Regions from separate parts of the Homo sapiens genome. Here region 2 is linked to region 1. The links are contacts of gene promoters, found by promoter capture Hi-C in human tissues and cell types (Jung and others, 2019). All regions are on one chromosome and are shown on one strand. Each heading gives the region's core, a stretch centred on a gene start or on the middle of the fragment in contact. The rest is flanking DNA. Distances are from core to core; before and after follow the strand shown. Region 1 holds the start of COMMD3-BMI1 (COMMD3-BMI1 readthrough). Region 2 overlaps ARMC3 (armadillo repeat containing 3).

Region 1 (3,760 bases), core at 946-3,445:
CTGTTTTGAGTAAAGCAAAATTTTAAACAGTATTTTCATACTTTCAGAATATGTTCATATGTAGTTTTTCTAACATAAAATGCATTGATCTTTATGGCTGTAACCAAGAGAGTCTACATCTGGGTAGTCATGCCTTTTGATGATCATACTTCCATGTATTTCAATGACTTGTCAAAGACACACGTTTGAAACACTCGATCCTGTGCCTCCTTCAAAGGAAGTTTAAATAAATATACCTGTAGTAGGAAAATTCCGTTTTTCTAGCATTAGAACACATTATGGTGAAAATTTTTGTGAGCTTAAAATGTGCCCATCACTTAGGCCTAACACATGAATATACTTAGGCCTAAGAGGAGGAAACATTCTAAGAGAAAGTACTTATACATGGGCAACAAAGTAATATGACAGCTATTATGGAAACAATCCTTCTGAATTTCCTAACTTTCATGCCCACAAATTGACAACCACTTGTGTTTATTTTTCTTTTAAAATAATATTTTAAAATCTATGTCCATGATTAATACTCTCTTTTTTGACACTAAATTGAGTATTAGAGTTATCAACTCAAATTCTATTAGAGTATTAATAATCAACGTTACACTAGGTCATAAAATACATGTGTAATAAACATAATAAGCTTGGGTGTTGTTAATATTGTTGAACATTTACACAACTCTGTCCTGACTATTCTCTATGTAATCAGGTATCATGAAGTTTTTCAACTGACATTTTACTACTAATGAGAAACAAATTAGGAAGATGAGTGATGGGAAGAAAAGATGAACATGATTAATAGGTGCTTGTTTCATAAAGACTCTAGGGAGACTTTTAAATCCTTCACTGCTACTATATTCTCACCGAGTGAGGAGCCACTGCACGTGCCTTTTAAAGCTTTCAAAGGAGGGCTGAGTAGTTACTCAATCTGTTACTGATGCTTACTCCATTTGCATCCTGTTGTGAAATGAGGTACACTTTATGTATTGGTGCCAAGGTAAATGTCAACTGTATCCATCAAAAATTTTTAAAACAGACATCTAAGTTAGAAAAAGAAAATAATGTTTCACTTTGGGTCTAATGTTGCAAATAATCGCTCCTGAAGACTAAAACATCTTTGTTGTTCCGCATCCCTTCCCTCCACCCTTCAAGAACTTGCATTTTTTAACTTTTCAAGTGCTTTTGATTAAAAATACCTAATCTACTTTGCTTCACGGGTTTTTTAAAGAATCATTCTTGTTCTCTAAACCAACTTCGTAGAAATAGAGAGGAAGTTAAACTTTATACAGTATTTGAATCTTTAAAGGTATGAGCATCCTAAACAGTAACTCACTTCTAATAAAGATCTTGCCATTCCTAACTGTACTTTACTAAGGTAGCTGTTTAATAAAAACGTATTTATGCAGATTCTATAGAGCAACTAAAACGGGACCCATAGATGTGGTGAGTAGCACAAAATGTGTATGGCAGTTGGCTTTATTTGCAGCGGCATATAAAATTGTTAATAATCCTGTCAAATCTGTTCATGAATAATTTATTAATCCGATTGCTGGAGTGCAGTGCATACAGGAACTCTATGTATGCGTGCATGTGTACACACCCCCCATGCAGGAAGGACACTACTGCCGTATTCCAGAAATGACAAAAAAAAAAAAGTAAAAATAAGCAAGAATCACATAATTAGATGTCTTACAGTCTCATAAAAGGGCAGTGCTGCGAGGTTAAGCTGGTGAGCTAAAAAACAAACAAAACAAACAAAAAACCACAAAAGCAAAATCCAGTTGCCTGAGATCGGAGCTTCCCGCAGGATTCGCGCAGAGCGAGGAGCGGGGAGGACGCCGTTTGCGGGAGGCGGGGGCCGGGATCCCGACACCGTCCGCAGTCTCCCCGGGGTCTCTCAGGGAACCGAGCTGGTGGCCGTCCGAGGTAAGCGCCGAACCAAGGAGAAAGCGCCGAGCGCGTCCACAAAACGCCCGAGGCCGCCCTTCTCGCCAAGGCTCGGCAGCTCCCGCGGCCTGCGCTGGACAAGCGAGAGCTGGACGGAAACGGTGGGAGGCCGTAGGCGGCGGCTGGGGGCGCGGGACCCGCGCGCGGGCGCGGAGGCGGGCGGGGAGGCCCCGCAGCCCGCGCCGCCGCCAGCCGCCCCGAGCCGCGTGCGCGCGCGGCCGCATCAGCTGAGCGCGCGGCGCGTGTCACGTGGTGTGCGTGTCGAAGGTCACGGCGCGCTCACAATGGAGCTCTCGGAGTCTGTGCAGAAAGGCTTCCAGATGCTGGCGGATCCCCGCTCCTTCGACTCCAACGCCTTCACGCTTCTCCTCCGGGCGGCATTCCAGAGTCTGCTGGACGCCCAGGCGGACGAGGCCGTGTTAGGTAAGCCGCTCGGCTCGGCTCGGAGCTGGATCCGCCGGGGTGGAGGGGCGCTCGGAGAAGAGGAGCCGGCGGAGCGAGAAGGGGAAAGCCCCGGGAAGAGGAAGTCTCCGGGCTTTGCCCTTCGCTCCGGACGGAGTGTTGGGGACGTGGCTCTGCCAGGACTCGGAGCAGACTCTGAGCATTGTTTTGGCCCCACTTGGCACCTGCATAGAGCCAACTCCACGTTCCTGGCCCGGTTTCCCTCCCAGTCTCTTTGTTCTTTTGTAAAGCCGGTGTTCAAGTCTTGTTTGTGGCCTAAACATCTAAGGTGTTTAGCCTTGTCTGAGGCTGCGGCTGTTTTGACAGTTGGACTTCATCTGGGGAGCTCCCTGCAATTCAAGCTTCCAGGGCTAGGCTAGCAAAGGTTTAAGGGTCTGTTTCCGAAGTAATTACTAGGTCAGACAGTGTTGACATTTGCCAACTTAGAGCATACCTCAAGTTGCTATGATCACTCCAGCGCTCTAGTTCAGCATGTTTACACAGGTTCTACGCCTAGAACCTTAAACTATGATGCACAATACTTTGTTCCGCCCCAGTTACCAGGATGCGAGTGTCTTTTAAGCGATCCGGTCAGTGACTGCGGAGGTGCAGTGTCAGTATGGATTGAAGACATATTTTAAGACCGATCGCTTTTAGATGATTTTCTTAAATATAAATATCCCAACAATTCAAATTTTTGTTTTTTTTCTGTAGTTTCATGAACTAAACACTTGTACAAAAAGTATGAAAGTGGAAGTTCTTAAACGAAAATAGTAACCACCACCTGGGTTAATCTCAAAAAAAAAATGACTGTCAAACCCTGAAAGTACTAATATAATTTTGAAATTTGTATCTTATATTCTGAACTCATGCCCTACCTTCTACCCCCTTGATGTATTTGTTCATGGAGCCGGTTACCCTAAACTCATCATTTTTAGGATGGAAGTTTATTCTAAAATTGACACAATGTAAAATATTTATCTTGTTTTTCCTTTGAATTTACTCCAGTGTTAGAATGACCATTGCATTGTTATATTTTCTTTGGGGGCTATAATATTTTTTAATAGTAAAAATATTAAGGCAAAATAAGTTAATTGAAGCTAGTAATAGTAGAGTTCTTGTTGTGTTCTTTTTATTGTTTTTCACTTGATCTTGTTGCTCATCTCATTTACTTATAATTGACTGTCCTTATAGTTGATGTTTTTAATCTTGTTAAAGGGTTTTTAAACCCAAATTAAAATATCCTTTTTGGAACATGACTGTAAAGAATTTATTATCATAGGCATCACTGGAAGTTAATTTATTTTAGATCATCCAGACTTGAAACATATCGACCCAGTGGTTTTAAAACATTGTCATGCAGCAGCTGCAACTTACA
Region 2 (3,760 bases), core at 557-3,056, 720 kb after region 1:
TTCACTCATACACACCACCTACAGGCCACTCCTCTATAGGCCACCCTTTCCCAGCTCCTAGTGGCAGGCTTTTTCCTATTTCCTTCAGCTACTGGGCCCCACATCTGCCCTTTGCCAAGCCCTTCCATCTGCACTGCTCCCCTCTAAGCAGGTGACCTTGTGTCCCACTTCACAAAGAAAACAGGGAGTTTCAGATGGGAATTCCTTCACCTCAGTCAGCAGCAGTTATTACCCTGACATTAAAAACTCAGACTCCAGAGACAGATGCCCTCGCTCTCACTTTCCGTCACCACATACCATGACCTTAGGAAAATTATGCGACCTCAGTTTTACCCTCTATAAAACGGGGAAAACAATAGCATCTATTCCACAGGGTTGGTTGTTTTGATGATTTACAAGGCTTTGACACGGAGTGTTACTTTTGGAAACATCTTATAATTATATATTTATTTTTGTCTCTCTACCCCACTGAACTATGAGTGCCATACATTCAGATACTATTTGTGTTATAGTTGATTCTTTACCAGTAGGTCTATGTAGAATGTAAGGCTCTAAAAATGATAACCATGTCTTAATCATCATGGTCCACCCAAGACACAGTGACCTGGTGCAGTCATTATATTGTCAGTAATAAATAAATTAATATATACATATACAGGGTTCTAAAACAACACAATTCCTGCCTTCTGGTGCTATGTAGTATTAACTGAGTATGTAGCCTTGCTGGTGTTCGCTGCTTTAAGCACTGGACAGATAATTGACTTCATCTTCCTAATACCTTATGAAGAAAGTACTGTTGCTCCCCTCATTTCTCAGATGAAGCCATGGAAGCCCAGAGATGCCAAGTCCCTTGCTGGGGTGCGCGGCTAGTCGGTCTCAGATCTGGGCTATAATCCAGACCCAGGCAGGCTAAGCCAGCTCTCCTGTTCACTATAAAGTGGCTGAGTAGTCTCCAGATTAGAGATACTTTGTTTTAATAACCTCAAAATCAGGAATCATCAGAGGGCAAATTCAAGAGACAGTTTCCAAGGAACCAACGTAGTCTCTGGTGAGGTGGCAGCAAGGAGCCCTAGGACCAGGCACCCACAGTTCTGCCTCTCCTGCCCCATGGCACGCAGAATAGTTTAGCTGGAAAGAGCCCCCGCCCCAGGGTGATGCCTCCATTCAGTCCCACTGCATTTCACAGCCAGGGAGAGCCCAGAAGTTTGGAAAGATGGATAGATGCACTAGTGCAAAGAGTGCACAGAATAGCTTTTTTCCAATCACCCTCGCCATCTGATACAATAGTGTTACTACCTGAAAAAGGTGACTTCCCAGCAGGACCTACACAGAGATTTTGCATCTACAGAATCTTGAGTGAATTTATCACATTTGATTGGCCCCTATACCAATAGTCCACATCTTTCAGCCTCCTATCTAAACATTTCTTTGCAAGACTTGTGTATTTCACCTTCAATCAAGGTGTGCAATTACAAATAGGATATTCCCCACCCCTCTCCCGCACCACCCTTGGTTGATCTCTTGTTTTCTCCTGCAGGCTCTGGCTGATAGAATTGGCATTGGTTGCTCCCTAGTTCGCGGAGAGTACGGTAGAGCGTGGAATGAAGTCATGCTGCAGAATGACTCTCGGAAGGGAGTGATTGGGGGCCTCCCCGCTCCTGAGATGTACGTGATTGACCTCATGTTCCATCCAGGTGGACTGATGAAGTTGAGAAGTCGAGAGGCTGATCTTTACAGATTCATTTAAGCCATCAGACGAACACAAGAGAGGCTCAAACAAGAAATTCACTGTGTACACTCTCTAAGACATTCTCCAAATTGATTTTATCTCTTTAAATAAAAACTTTAAATAAAAGTATTAGAAATGTTTTCTCTGCGTAGAAATTAGGAAGCTTGGAGTGAACTTTGCTGTGCTTCTGATTTCAGGCTTTTGGCAAGAGTTCTGTCTTATTAGGTCATTTTCCGCTCACTGACCCTCACATAAAGCTGATTGTTGTCGAAATTCATCCAGCCCACTGTGTCCTGAGGAGCGTCTCTGTCATTTAGGAATCACATGTAGCACTCAGCTGCTGCACCCAGGACAACACTGTGGCCTCATGACTGTCATCTTTCATGCCCAGAATGCTTCAGGCATGCTCAGTTAAGCAAACTAAGTGAATTTTTAGTATTTGCAATCACCTTGTCTCAGTTTCATTTAAGATTTTGATAGTTTAGATAGAATAAACACAGATCTGAGTGTTACAAATTCCTTTCTAAAAATTTTTGTTTCTATTTTTAAAAATTCATCATTAAAAACACTTTAATATAGTGAATTAAAAATATTTCTAAAGTATATTTCCATAAAATGGTTTTGGTTTCATCTTGTCTGTGTTAGCTTGGAAACATACCTTCAGCTAAAAACAATTCTGATTTGCTCTTCCACATTTTAATGCTGGGCCATTAATATATTATTTTCAATTTATAGAACTAAAAAATTTTTATTTTTTGGAAAACTTTGAAGCATAAAGGTAGAGCAAATCTTTGCTGAGGAATTGTGTTTTAGTATTGAGCACAAAATGGGGAGTAAATTCACATTTCAAATGATAAGACAAAAACTACTAATGTGGTTAATCTCGTGAAGTACATATTGCCTAGTCACGCTTAAAGTCCAGTGTTGACCTGTATAGTCATTTTCCTAGAAGACGTTTTAAAGTGAATTTGATTTTAGAAATTAAAGCTAAGATTATTTTGTATTAATTTGTAATTTCAAATAATATAATTCTTTATTTCAGAATAAATTTATTTCAAATGGCGTGGTAATTATATTTATCATAGAATTTTATGAAATTAGAGCGTGGCTTATGGGATACAAACCTATTTGTAGGTTTTTCCTCTGCATTTTAAAGTCTGTTTTGATCCAGAAAGTATTTAAAGTGGATTACAAAGATCCATGGGATATAAGAAGGAAAAAGAAAATAAATGAAATGCAGGCGTAAGTGTAGAAAAGTCCAACAAAGCAGGAATAAGATTTGGATCCAAAGATTAGAATTCAATAAAATGCAGTGCATTTGTTAGAGATGAATGGAAATTTGACTCTATACTCACTGGCAGCCAGTGTGAGGGGAAATGTTATTTATCCATTATGGGATTTACACTAGGATCTGCTAGATAAAAGCACAGACCAGTTTCTCAGGTGGAACAAATATCAGGGGAATTTCTCTTTGGTAGATTCATAGAGATGGCAAAATGTAACCTAGAAAATAACATCGTCAAAAACCAACCTCCTGGTAAGTTCTGAAAAGAAGTTTCACAGGCCAAGGCCCCAACATCAAAGTGGAATTAGGCAAATGTTCTATGCAGAGCTACTAGGATAGGGCCCGGGTATACACCACTTTTTAAAATCTGGTGCATGCCAAAGATTTTTTTTTTTAATCTTTGAGACAATTCTGTACAATGTCTCTTTCAACTAGTTTCTAGATAATTACTGAACAGAGATAGTTTAAATTTAATTCTCATACAGGTTTTCAAAGTTCATTTCTTCTGATTTACTTGGTTTAAATGTAGAGCCATAAAATTTAATAATCAGCCAATTATACAAAGACAATACATTTGCAATGGCAACAAAAGTTATAAAATACATAGAAATAAATTTAACAAGAACTATGCAAGAAAAACTACAGAATTTTAATGAGACTTGAATAAATGGAGATGTCCTTTCCAGGAACAGCACGCTCTTTGATGGGAAATTCAGTAGTAAAAAGATTTCAGTCCCCCATATTAA

The links. Contacts are between HindIII fragments. The study calls those that stand out against the background at their distance.
Region 2: a contact is called between a fragment that was not itself captured here and the fragment with the promoter of COMMD3-BMI1 in region 1, in 2 of the 25 tissues and cell types used here (hippocampus and mesendoderm cells).

What each region holds. Positions count from the first base shown.
Region 1 is chr10:22,314,193-22,317,952 of GRCh38, forward strand. It overlaps COMMD3-BMI1 (COMMD3-BMI1 readthrough), which reads left to right and starts at 2,196. Exons shown (of 14, transcript NM_001204062.2): 1 at 2,196-2,364; 2 at 3,692-3,760. The coding sequence starts at 2,226. COMMD3 (COMM domain containing 3) reads left to right here and starts at 2,196. Exons shown (of 8, transcript NM_012071.4): 1 at 2,196-2,364; 2 at 3,692-3,760. The coding sequence starts at 2,226. RefSeq lists a silencer at 2,054-2,173 and an enhancer at 2,444-2,743. The HindIII fragment of the contact is 4,167 bases long and covers 1,818-3,760 here.
Region 2 is chr10:23,035,733-23,039,492 of GRCh38, forward strand. ARMC3 (armadillo repeat containing 3) reads left to right here. Exons shown (of 19, transcript NM_173081.5): 19 at 1,538-2,791. The coding sequence ends at 1,747. The region is part of intron 2 of LOC107984215 (a long non-coding RNA gene); the gene reads right to left. Among named protein-coding and RNA genes, the nearest start is that of MSRB2, 58 kb to the right of the region's middle. The HindIII fragment of the contact is 3,149 bases long and covers 233-3,381 here.